Linked DNA regions of Homo sapiens: all the other regions are linked to region 2. The links are contacts of gene promoters, found by promoter capture Hi-C in human tissues and cell types (Jung and others, 2019). All regions are on one chromosome and are shown on one strand. The core of a region is centred on a gene start or on the middle of the fragment in contact, and the rest is flanking DNA. Distances in the headings are between cores, read along the strand shown.

Region 1 (3,433 bases), core at 828-3,327, 680 kb before region 2:
ATCAACTGGTGAATCAATTGGTATAAACAAATGTGTTATAGTCATACAATGAAATACAATTCAGCAATAAAAACTGTTAATACATACTGCATCATGGATGAACATAAAAAATGTCATGCTAAGTACAACATATTGTGTGATTGTTTATATGAAATTTCTAGAAATCTATAGAAATAGAAAACAGATCAAAAGTTGCCTATGGATTGAGGGGAACAGGGCTTTCCTGCAAACAGGCAGAAAGGAACTTTTTGAGGTGATGGAAATGTTCTAAAACTTGAGTGTGATAATGATTGCACAACTCTACAAATTTACTAAAAATCTAAATTATTTACTAAATCTGTAAAAATAGTTTAGTTTAATAGTATGTAAATTATACCTCAATAAAGCTACTTTAAAAATTATACCAATAGTAAAAGTAGGAAAAATCATAATATAGTACACCAAAAATGTAAATGTATACATATTCACAATTAAAATTGTTTTCTAAATTTTTAAAAAATATTTTATATTTTGTAGAGACAAGGTCTCACCACATTGCCTAGGCTGGTCTTGAACTCCTGGGCTTAAGCAGTTCTCCCTCCCTGGCCTCCCAAAGTGCTGGGATTACAGATGTAAGCCACCACACCCAGCCCTAAAATTTTTTAATTGAGAGAATATATTAAATCTAATGTCTAATATTATTTTCAGTGATGGAGTGTAACTTAGTCCTCCAAAATAAGCCTAAAATAAGAATCTCCCCTTTTACTAATCTTTTTTTTTTTTTTTTGGAGACAGAGTCCTGCTCTGTTGCCCAGGCTGGAGTGCAGTGCTCACAGCAACTTCCGCCTCCCAGGTTCAAGTGATTCTCCTGCCTCAGCCTCCCGAGTGGCTGGGATTACAGGCGCACGCCACCATGCCCAGCTAATTTTTGTATTTTTGGTAGAGGTGGGGTTTCACCATGTTGGCCAGGATGGCTCGATCTCTTGATTTCATGATCTGCCTGCCTTGGCCTCCCAAAGTGCTGGGATTACAGGCGTGAGCCACCACGCCTGGCCCCTTTTACTACTCTTTAGCATACTGTTTGAGATACATTTGCTAAGATGAGCAAAACATTCTAATTAATATTAATTAATATTATCTTTTCTTTTTTGTGTGTTTTATTTTTAAAAATTAATATTAGAGTGAACAAAAATCACTGTTTGAAGATAGCATGGTTTTGTATTTAGAGAATAAAAAAGGCTAATCAGAAGCACAGAGACTACTTCAGCTGTATTTATAATGTTTTATTTAAGCAGGATGGTGGCCATATGATAGATGACACTGACACTCCTCATTAAAGATGACAGTTTGAGGCCATGCGTGGTCGCTCACGCCTATAATCCCAGCACTCTGGGAAGCCGAGGTTTTTGCTCGAGGCCGGGAGTTTGGGACCAGCCTGGGCAACATAGCTCTACAAAAAGATAAAAAAATTAGCTGGGTGTGGTGGGCATGTGCCTGTAGTCCCAGATACTGGGGAAGCTGGTTGGGGGGGATCGCCTGAGCCCAGGAGTTTGAGGCTGTGGTGTGCTATGATTGTGCCACTGCACTCTAGACGGGGTGACAGAGCAAGACCCTGTCCTGAAAAAAAAACAAAAACAAAACAAAACCCAAAAAATGGTAGTTCAAATACATGCACTAATCTCTCCTGAAACCTCTTTAAAAGTACAACAGATAAGAAAAAATCATGGCAGCCTGCAAGGACTTAAAGAATGGAAGAAGAGACTACAGTAAATGAGAGCTATCAATACAATTTCGAAGGTTGGAAAATGAAAGAAGTAAAACTCTTAAGTGCCTGCAATAGGGAAAGCCAATAGGAAACAAGTAAAACCCCTGTAATTAACTTCTGAAAGACTCAGGAATTAGATGTATCAGGTATAATCTGTAGGAGTGAGAAAGAACTAAAGACAGGATTGTTTGAACATGTGTATAAGGGATAATAGATCTACCCCCAGATCTTCCTTATTCCATGTAGCCACATAGTTACCCTTATCTTCCTCTGACAGAAGACCGGGTTGAAGCTTGCTCTCTGGAGAGGCTGAGCCAGAGAAGTTCTGGATTCTGGAAGACCAGAAACAAATCAGAGTCTGGTGAGATGCTGCACTAATAATGGGGATTAAGTGAAAGTCTGGTCGTCAGATTTATAATCTGCAAACAGAAGACTGGAATTTCTTTTCGTCAAAACTGAGTAACCAAAGAGAACCTAAGGATACTGAAAAGTGAAATGACTGGCCACGCCTCTATAGTGAGGTCCACTATTCAAAATGCTTCACGCATTGCACACTGAGCTTGCATTCAGTGTGTTAGTGACTGTTAATTATAAATGGATAATTAAAGATCATCAAATATTTAAGACCTAAAGAAAAAGAAGAAAAGAGAAAAGAAGCAATGCAGGAATCATAAAAACAGTGTTTTTAAAGATATAATTACTACCTTTAAAGAACTGGATACTATAAAAAGACTGAGATATCTTCAGGACATCTATTGTATAACATTGGTGACTATAGTTAGTATGTTGTATTCTTGAAAAATGCTAAGAGAGTGGATATTAAGTGTTCTCACCACACAAATAATAACCATGTGAGGTAATGTATATATTAATTTAGTCATTCTACAGTGTATATCCACTTCAGAATATGTTGTACACACTGAATACATAGAATATTATCTGTCAATTTAAAAATTAAGAATGCTTAAAAAATAGACTATAGATTAGAAAGTGAGAAGACTAGAAAATAAAAATAATCAGAATAAATTCAGGGGTGGCTGGGTACAGTGGCTCACGCCTGTAATCTCAGCACTTTGGGAGGCCGAGGCTGATCGCTTGAGCCCAGGAGTTCAAGATTAGCTTGGGCAACATGGTGATACCCTGTCTTTACAAAAAATACAAAAAAATTAGCTGGGCTTGGCGTTGCATGCCTGTAGTCCCAGCTACTTAGGAGGCCGAGGTGGGAGATCATCTGAGCCTGGGAAGTCGAAGCTGCAGTGAGCCGTGATTGCACCACTGCACTCCAGCCTGGGTGACAGAGTGGGACCCTGTCTCAAAAATAAACACATAAATAAATAAAAATTAAAATAAATTCAGTGGAAAAGTTAGAAGATAAATTTGAGACCATTTCCCAGAAAAGTAGTATAAAAATGAACAACAAAAAAGAAAATAGCAAAGTGAGTGCAATTCATGCAGGAAATGTAATATCCAACTAATAGATGTTCCAGAAAAAGGAAATACATGGAGAAGAAGAAATTAATAAATAATTTTAAAAATTGCCCCAGAAATGCAGTACTGTGTATGTATTTCCAGATTAAAAGGATCTTTTCGTTGGGCATGGTGGCTCACGCCTGTAATCCTAGCACTTTGGGAGGCTGAGGCAAGAGGATCCCTTGAACTCAGGAGTTTGAGACCAGCCTGGGCAACAAA
Region 2 (2,994 bases), core at 422-2,921:
GGCGTGATCTCAGCTCACTGCAACCTCCACCTCCCGGGTTCAAGCGATTCTCCTGCCTCAGCCTCCCGAGTAGCTGGGACTACAGGCGCACACCACCACACCCAGCTAATTTTTTTGTATTTTTAGTAGAGACGGGGTTTCACCATGTTGGCCAGGATGGTCTCGATCTCTTGACCTCGTGATCGGCCCGCCTCGGCCTCCCAAAGTGCTGGGATTACAGGCGTGAGCCACCGCGCCTGGCCCATTGATGACTCTTTCTTAACGACTCCATCAGAAATCTGTCAGTTAATAAACGTGCTGCTCAGTTAGTGACGAGAAATAACTGTATGTTAGTGGTTAAGAAGCCCCATAATTGCAGCATTTAATACCTGCTGTTGTTCCTAATACCACCAGGCTGACTCAGACTAAGGAGCCCTCCAAGTTCCACTGTCTAATAAAGACCTGTCAAAGTGAAAACTCAACAGTGGAAACTCCAGAATTCATTCAACCGTTGTACCTGCTTTACCTACATAAATAAGCAGAACTGATTTTTGGGTTCTTTGCCACAAGAAGATGCGCTGAAAACAAAGCATCAAATGGTTCTGCAAAAAATACTCCTCCTCTTTACAGTGAAGTTTAAATTAGATCAAGAATGCTACTTACAAAGATATTCTGAATTACAGGATCTCCTGATTCATCATAATGAACTTTTCAACCCTGTTAAGTATCAAAACTGCAGCACAAAATCAGCCAACATGCGAACTAAGGACTAAAGACAGTTCATAGGTCTTTGGCGATTGTGATTATAAAATCACGTGCCTGAGGACCACTAAGTCTGAGGTACACACCAAATCATGCAGCTCAAGATAAGCAGAAAGCACTGTTCCGTGCTCAACCCACCCCCCGCCCCACCAACCATCCAAAGTCAATGCTGGTGCCCAGGACCCGTGAGTCCTTACCATTAAATATGCCCGCCCCATTTCCTCCCCAGTTGAGGAAATCACAGACTCCTTGGCCCCAAGAATCTTAACCCTCGTCTTCATACAATTCTCCAGAAACCTTAACACCGGCTTTTTTAGGCTCCCACCACCTAAAACAAAGTTCATAAAATCCTGACGGCAGTTTCCTTCAGAGCTTAGGCTCTCGACCACACCCTCCGACCAGGCCTGTCTCCCTCCTGCCTGCCCCCTGTAGAGGGAAGGCTCCCCCTCCTTTTGGTCACTCTGCCTGGCCGCTCTACTCACAGGATAGCGGTGTCGGGGGGCAGCAAGCCCGACAGCGCCCTCCAGCTCGGTGCGGGCAATTTCCTGCGACTGCAGTCCAGGAGAGGAATGCGGCAGGAGCAGGGCGCGGGGCAGAGACCTGCTCCGGCGGCGGGCAACAGGAGGAGAGCGGTCTGGGCAATGAAGAGTAACCGAGAAAGCACTCTAGATCGACACCCCAGCAACTGCTCCTCCGGGACGCCTAGGGGCGCCGGCGCCATTTTCCCCCTCGACCTGGACGTGGCCTAGAAGAGCTGCCTGCTAGAAAAGGAGGATCGGCGGAGAAGCTCAGCAGAGATGCTCGGTGGCTGCACTGTCTCCCGAAGCCCCGGCTGAAGGCTGTACCATCTAAAGGCATGCAAGGAGCAGACGCAGCGCGACAGCGGGGTCGACGGCCTGGGACACACGGCCTGACGGACACCTCTCGTCCGCCCCTCCCCACGGCGCAACGTCCTCACGCACAGGGGCCAGCCAATCGGTGCCATAAGATGAGGTTGCGCCCGGGGCGGAACTCAGTGAGGGGCGGGGCCAGACGCAGCCGAGTATCTTGAGGAGAAGGACTTTAAAGCGTTCAGGGATTTTAGCTGCCGCTGTGGAGTTCCGCCGCTGTTCTTCCGCTGGAGGGCGCAGTAGTTCCTTAAGAGGGAATGGTGCGGCGAATAGCTGTGAGTTCAAAGTCCTGACTACAGGTATATCTACTGTAGTAGAAAAGGATCTTTTATTTGCTCTGGGCTTTAAGAAAGGGGAGTGGCAGAAGGGCTGCCTTCCAAGTCGCACACACGAATGGGTCACGGGAGCTTCTATCCTGGCTTTGGCCAGATCGGCCTCCAGAGCCGAGCTCGAGCCTCTTCTGCCCCCTGCTGCTTGGCTGTAGCCCCTGCTCTTCTGCAAGTAGGCGGCAACTGCCATTTGCATAAGATCAATATCACTCTCTGTTAATGGCCTTGTAAGCTCCTGAAGGCAGAGGCCCTGTTTCTTCATCGGTGCACCTCCACCTTTTGTTCTAGCTTGGAGTTCAATAAATTTTGGTGGGACTGCACCTGCATGTCTATATAAAGGAAATACCCTTCTCTTTGGAGGGATGCTGTCAAGGTCACTCTCAGAAAAGCAAGCGAGACAAGAGGGTGTTGAGCAGTCAACAAAGCAAAGACTGGATGTGAGGAAATTTATTTCTCCTAAAGCAGAGGCTATGGAAAACTTACTAGGAACAGTGAAGTCTGGCCATCTTATGCTCATTCAGCCATCCAAGGTTGTAAATAAGACTTTGAGAATAATAGTGATGGTTCACTTATACGTAGTGAACTTTTCAAAGGGCGTTTGCATCTGTTATCTTGTTTGCTCCTTCAGTGACTGTGACATTGGCAAGACAATTATTGCTGATGATGCAACAAGCCCCAAGAGGTTAAACCAAGTTACTCTTGAGGCAGGGGCAGGTTCGACATTAACATGGGTTTTCTGACATAAATTGAAAATCTGAGCAGGTTAAAAAGAATGATAATGCCTAGGTTAGGGTTCTCATAGAAAGTAACTGAAAGCAATCTTTCCCATGGCAGATTATGGAGTCATAATTATGTTTTTAAAAACCTTTTTCTGTTTTTTTTTTTTAATATTGAAGTATATATTGGAAACAAGGCCATATCCAATGCTACAGTCCAAACCAAACTTTTAAAGCCAAGACAGCGGAATGAAACTTACTCTTAGCCTTCTTCCCTTAGCTGTTGAGCAGACTTAACAAACTCTGGTAAGAAATCCG
Region 3 (3,016 bases), core at 383-2,882, 740 kb before region 2:
ATGGATCTGCCATAAGAAAATCTAGTTCAACTCTAATTTTATGTAGTAAATAAATTGGCAGGTAATTGTTTTTACAAAGAATCCACCTGACTTCCCCTAATGCATTAAAAATATTTTTATTTAAATAACTTTATTTATAACTTTTAGAAACATGTAGTATTGTTTAAACATCATTTGTTCTTCAGTATTTTTCATTTGGAAGTCCAATAGGGCAAATTGAATGAAGTATTATTATCTGTCTCTTGTAGTACAATGTATCCAACAGACACTCAATAAACTTTTTGGTTGTTAAACTGACTTCATTGCAGTAGTGTTTAGGTAATACTTCTCCAGAAACTAGTGAAATCAAACCACAGTAATTTTATCTGCTGAGTATATATCATTGTAATCAATTACTTCCAAATGTCTTTATCAATAAACAAATATACTAAAAGAATTCTAGGTAACCATGAGTTACTTAGGGCACCATGAGTGCATCTGTAGACCCAGCTACTCATTCCTTGAGCCCAGGAGTTGGAGGCCAGCCTGGTCAACAGAGCGAGACCTTGTCTCTTTTTTTTAAGAGTCAGGGTCTAGATCTGTCACCCAGGCCAGAGTGCAGTGGTGCGACCACTCCTCCCACCTTAGCCTCACGAGTACCTGGGACTACAGGCGCGTGTCACGACACCCAGATAATTTAAAAAATACTTTTGTAGGGACAGAGGCTCACTATGTTACCAACGCTGATCTGGAACTCCTGGCCTCATGCAATCCTCCCGCCTCGGCCTCCCAAAGCTCTGGGATTACCGGCCTGAGACACCGAGCCCCGCCCCGCCCGTCTCTAAATAAATACTTAAAAGAACCCCAGGTAAAAGCTAAAGCGAGGATGAAATTCTAAATGAATTTCTGAGCAACAACTATCCGTAGTGAGCAGTGATGATTTTTGGTGTGTTCTCCGGTAGGCACACTTTTCAAATTTATGCAATCTTATCCTTAAGATTTGAAAAAAAAAAACTTATAAAAAATCTTAAACGTGGTTTTCCATCTACAATTTTTCGCAACTGTAGGGATATATTCAAAATAAATGCTGGACATTTCCAGGCATTAGAGGGGATGTGGCCGGATGGCGAGGAGGGGCCGTCCTCACCAGGACTCCAAGCAGTTCTCGCACCTGACTTCGTAGGCCTGTAGTTGTAACCATAGCAATGCCCCAGATGCTTGAAAACATTTCTGAATTGCGGCCCTATCATATTTTTACAGCAAAACCACCCTTATTTTACATATTACTAAATCCTCTTTTCACCTTCATTTCATCCCTCGTCAAAGTTAAAAGGATGAAGATTCTTTTATCTCACAAAGGTTATGAGAGAAATATTAAATTTAAAATCACTGTGGAGACCACCTCCTCCGTGTAAAATGAGGAAGGGTCACAGGAAGATGATAATGGGAACGCGCCGCCAGACTCTGAAAGCCATTAACATTGTTTCGGCCGTTAGGGCGGTTGGCGGCAACTCACCGCCCAGCGGCGGTTGCGTCGCAGCCAGAAGCGTGACTTCGCGCACGCTCCCTTTCCACTCCTCCACTCAGAGCCGGGGACGCGGCGGGGGCGCGGCGGAACTACAGCTCCCATGACGCTTTGCGCGGCATAGGGTGCTTTACAATAGAAGCTCGGTTGGAGAGGCCTGCGGAGAAAAGCTGGGAACGGCCGCTTCCGGCATGTTCATCTCTGGACGAAGAACGGCCGACAAGTGGAGGGCGGAGGAGAGACTCCAATGCCCAGCGGGCAGTGCGCGGGCGGCGCTTGCGCGATGCGCGGACGGGGGGGCGGTCGGGCCATTTAAATGTGTGTTTGTGGGTGAAATGGCTGCGCAGGTCGGAGCGGTGCGCGTAGTACGGGCGGTGGCGGCGCAGGAGGAGCCGGACAAAGAGGGGAAGGAGAAACCTCATGCTGGGGTCTCCCCGCGGGGAGTTAAACGGCAGCGCCGATCTAGCAGTGGGGGGTCTCAGGAGAAGCGGGGGCGGCCGAGCCAGGAGCCCCCTCTCGCTCCCCCTCACCGGCGGCGTCGCAGCCGCCAACATCCTGGGCCGCTGCCGCCAACGAATGCAGCCCCAACTGTCCCAGGCCCTGTTGAGCCTCTTCTCCTGCCGCCTCCGCCGCCACCTTCGCTGGCACCCGCCGGGCCCGCTGTCGCTGCCCCTCTCCCGGCCCCAAGCACCTCGGCCCTCTTCACCTTCTCGCCTCTGACGGTGAGCGCGGCCGGGCCCAAGCATAAGGGCCACAAGGAGCGGCACAAGCACCATCACCACCGCGGCCCCGATGGTGATCCCAGCTCCTGCGGAACCGATCTCAAGCACAAGGACAAGCAGGAAAACGGCGAGAGGACTGGAGGGGTGCCTCTGATCAAAGCCCCCAAGAGAGGTGAGAGCAGGCAAACTGCCCGGCTTGGGTTCTAGGTCTCTCTCAGTTCCGATATCCCGCATCTTTAGGACTGAAAGACGCCAAACCCCTGCTTACCTTCTGCTGCTGTACTTCTCTAAGCTCACTGGGGTGGACCCTGGATTTCAGATCGTTGACACGGTTTGATCTAACTACTTGAGGCTTCTCGCTCCGAGGCCGAGCTGTCAGTTGCTAATCCCTTTACCGGTCCCCCGGAGCCTCTCAGCATTTGTTTTCAAATTCTGCAAGGTTTCCGCGCCGCGTTAGATTAGTAGGTGGGGTACTAAAAAATGCCTTTCCAAAGAAAAGGCATGTTCCTAAAATCCCTTCTCCTTGTTTTGCTTGCTGGAGAGCTTTAGTTATCTGCTCTCCCTTGCTCCAGAATAGTCAGGGGTATGGTTCCAGTCTTTCAGGAGGGAATTCATATAAAGGTTACACGACTCACTGGTTGACTTAGCTTCTGCAAGGTAAAATATCAGACGCAGTTTATCTTGGTTCTTTTTAATCTAGAGGTAAAAATCATTTTAAAGTTTTCATATTAGCTATTTAAATTCTTAGAATAGGCATGTGGAAGGTTTTCTCTACCCTTTGATACTAGGA
Region 4 (3,100 bases), core at 120-2,619, 620 kb before region 2:
AGTTCCTTAGAGGGCCTTCTCTGATGACCCTAGTTAAAGTAGTTACCCATTTTATCCATTATCAGTTATATCGCCTTATTGATTTCCTTCATGGCACTTACCACAATTTTATCGTGTTTATTTTTTGACTGTCTGTCGTTTCCTTTCCCGCTACAGTGTAAGTCCCTTGAAGGCAGAGACTTCTTCTTGTCCCCAGAACATATAATAGGTGTTCAATAAAAATGTGTTGAATGAAGAATAGACCTCAAGTAATTTACCATTTGTGTAGTTTTTTTTTCTGTTAGGATAGAAGGGTCATACATTTGATTCTTGAGCAATGCAGGGGTTAGGGGCACTATCCTCCTTTCCTGTAAAAAATTCATGTGTAACTCTGATGCCCCCAAAACTTAATAGCTTACAGTTGACTGGGAGTCTTGCCAGTAACACAAACAATCAACACATTTTGTATGTTATTTGTATTATATACTGTATTCTTAAAGTGAGCTAGACAAAAGACAAATGTTATAAAGAAAATCCTAAGAAAGAGAAAGCATATTTTCCATTCATTAAGGAGAAGTGGATCATCATAAAAGTCTTCCTCTTTGTCATCTTCACATTGAGTAGACTGAGGAGGAAGAGGAGCGGTTGGTCTTGCTGAGTCAGGGGTGGCACAGGTGGAAGGGGAAGCACAAGAGGCAGTCACACTTGATCTAACTTTACAGAAATACATTGTAATTGGACTTTTTGCTTTTTTCATTTCTCTAAAAATGTTTCTATATGGTACCAATCGTTCTTCTACTGTTTGCTTTAGTTTCAGTGTCCATATCATAGAAGAGTCCATGTTGTAAAAGAAGTCAAAAGCAGCCTTGAATAATTGGAACCCTTCTGCCAGATTGTCTTACATCATCTTGTTCTTTGGCATTGCTTCTAAGTTTTCTTCCTCATCATCTTGCACTGATTTGGAAGCACTCGTCTCCATCAACAAGTCATCTGTTAATTCCTATGGTGTGGGGTTTATTAGCTCCTGAATTTCTCTTGAAACCCTTCACACCCCACTTTTTTTGCCACATCCACAATCTCTTTCATGATTTCCTTGATTGACTCTTTTGTAAATCCTATGAAGTTATGCACAACATCTGCACAGGTTTCTCCAGCCAGAATTTATTGTTTTGGGCTTGTTGGCTTTCACAGCTTTTTCTGTAACAATGATGGCATTTTCAGTGGCATGGCATAATCATTCCTTCCAGACTTTCATAATGTTCTCTCTTGGGGTTCTCTTTCACAGTATTGACAGTCCTTTCCAGAGTACTGTGTGTAATGGATCTAAAAAGTCCTTATGACCCCCTTATTCCTGAATTAAAGATGTTGTGTTTGGGAGCACAGAGACCACTTCATCGCTTTGGTGTTGAATTTATGGGGTTTTAGGTGGCCAGGGGCATTGTCCAGTATCAAAAGAACTTTCAAAGGTAGTGTCTTACTAGCAAGGTACTTCCTGACTTTAGGGACAAAGCATTGACAGAACCAATCCAGAAAAAGGGTTCTCATTGTCTAGGACTTCTTGGTATACAACCAAAAGACTGTCAGCTGGTGTTTTTTTTTCTTCTTCTTCTTCAAGGCTTGGGGGTTAGCAGGTTTACAGATATGTGTAGTCCTGATCGTAAACACAACTGCATTTGCACAGTATTAGCTTATCCTTTCCTGCCTAAATCATGGTGCTTGCTTCTCTTTCTAATAAATTTCCTTTGTGGCATTATTTCCCAGAATAGGCACTTTCTTCTGCATTAAAAACCTGTTAAGGCAGATATCTTTTCTTCTCAGTTATCTTCTGAATGGCATCTGTGAACTCGTCTGCTGCTTCTTCATCAGCAAATCTACTTTCCTTTTGCTTTGTCATATAACTTTGCTTTTTCTTGAATCACATTGGAATCTATAGATATGCCTTAGAGCACTCCCATACCCACATGAAGCTGCATTTTAAATGCAAGTTAAAAGCTATTTCACAAAAAGTGCAAGGTTTTCATGCCTGGTGGCATAACTGCAGCAAAAGCTTCATGAGTTTTTCTTTTCTTTCCTCCCTCCCTCCCTCCCTCCCTCCCTCCCTCCCTCCCTCCCTTCCTTCCGTCCTTCTTTCTTCTCTTTCCTTCTTTCTTTTACAATGGTCCTTATGCTGGACTCATTTATCTTGAAATGGTGGGCAACCACAGACCCCAATCTATGGTATCAAGCAACTCAACTTTTTCTTGTAATGTCATGACTCTTCTGTGCTTCTTGGGAGCACTTCTATGACTGGTGGTGCTTCATATGGGTCCTGCAGTTTTTATGTCCTCAAGGTTTACAGTATTGCACTAACCATGAAAAATATGCAAGAACCGCAAGGGATCACTTTTTACTGTGATCCACGGTTTATGGAGAGATGAACTGCTCACACAGAGATGATTAGCATCACATGGTGTTTTAAACAGATCTTTTGACACTTGAGTTCACCACAATAGCAACAGGAGGTAACTACAAAATAATTATAGTAGCTCAGTATGTACTACAGTTAATTTTATGCAGTTATGATTTAATACTGTATCTTTGTTTACATTTCTCTCAACCGTGAATGGTGCCATGTACAGTTTGTTTGTATGTTTTTATAAATTTTAACTTTTTATAATAGATTTGTGTGTATTTTATAGTAAATGATAAAATAGGCTAGTATCTATATAACTTTTTAATTTTTCTATATTTCTAGGCTACATGGTTTGTTTTTTCAAATTGCCACAAATCTCAAAAAAATTTTCCAATATACTTACAGAAAAAGGCCTGTATATAAGTGGACCCACACCATTCAAACCCATGTTGTTCAAGGATCAACTGTAATTTCATGGTTCTCCCACCTTCAGTGCCTCATTTATCCCTGTATAATAATTTCTAGGAACTTGGGCTTTTGTTTTGATTTCAAAAAAGGAATGAGATTTTGGTGATAATTACTTGTTACTGAGAAATTAAACCAAGATGTAAAAACAATTAGATTAGGCCATTCATACATTTAGTTGGAATAGTAATAACCATAGAAGGGTAAGAAAAATACCTGTTGACTTAATTTTATAATCTGCAGTTATATTGGGAAAAATTATCT

The links. Contacts are between HindIII fragments. The study calls those that stand out against the background at their distance.
Region 1: a fragment that was not itself captured here is called in contact with the fragment with the promoter of LRIG2 in region 2 in 1 of the 25 tissues and cell types used here (aorta).
Region 3: the fragment with the promoter of RSBN1 here is called in contact with the fragment with the promoter of LRIG2 in region 2 in 1 of the 25 tissues and cell types used here (lymphoblastoid cells).
Region 4: a fragment that was not itself captured here is called in contact with the fragment with the promoter of LRIG2 in region 2 in 1 of the 25 tissues and cell types used here (spleen).

Annotation. Positions count from the first base shown.
Region 1 is chr1:113,748,178-113,751,610 of GRCh38, reverse strand. All of the region lies in intron 3 of PHTF1 (putative homeodomain transcription factor 1), which reads left to right. Among named protein-coding and RNA genes, the nearest start is that of PHTF1, 9.6 kb to the left of the region's middle. RefSeq lists a silencer at 1,890-2,184. The HindIII fragment of the contact is 3,903 bases long and covers 126-3,433 here.
Region 2 is chr1:113,071,875-113,074,868 of GRCh38, reverse strand. It overlaps LRIG2 (leucine rich repeats and immunoglobulin like domains 2), which reads right to left and starts at 1,671. Exons shown (of 18, transcript NM_014813.3): 1 at 1,224-1,671. The coding sequence starts at 1,462. LRIG2-DT (LRIG2 divergent transcript) reads left to right here and starts at 1,767. Exons shown (of 3, transcript NR_103777.1): 1 at 1,767-1,930. RefSeq lists enhancers at 502-551, 1,151-1,210, 827-1,358, 1,391-1,700, 1,359-1,892 and 1 more. The HindIII fragment of the contact is 29,814 bases long and covers 1-2,994 here.
Region 3 is chr1:113,811,092-113,814,107 of GRCh38, reverse strand. RSBN1 (round spermatid basic protein 1) reads left to right here and starts at 1,632. Exons shown (of 7, transcript NM_018364.5): 1 at 1,632-2,398. The coding sequence starts at 1,696. AP4B1-AS1 (AP4B1 antisense RNA 1) reads right to left here and starts at 1,496. Exons shown (of 5, transcript NR_125965.1): 1 at 1,283-1,496. PTPN22 (protein tyrosine phosphatase non-receptor type 22) reads left to right here. Exons shown (of 21, transcript NM_015967.8): 21 at 1-297. RefSeq lists enhancers at 1,232-1,761, 1,498-1,887, 1,762-2,291, 2,268-2,357, 2,508-2,567 and 1 more. The HindIII fragment of the contact is 11,215 bases long and covers 1-3,016 here.
Region 4 is chr1:113,690,086-113,693,185 of GRCh38, reverse strand. No RefSeq gene overlaps it. Among named protein-coding and RNA genes, the nearest start is that of PHTF1, 68 kb to the left of the region's middle. The HindIII fragment of the contact is 3,895 bases long and covers 1-3,100 here.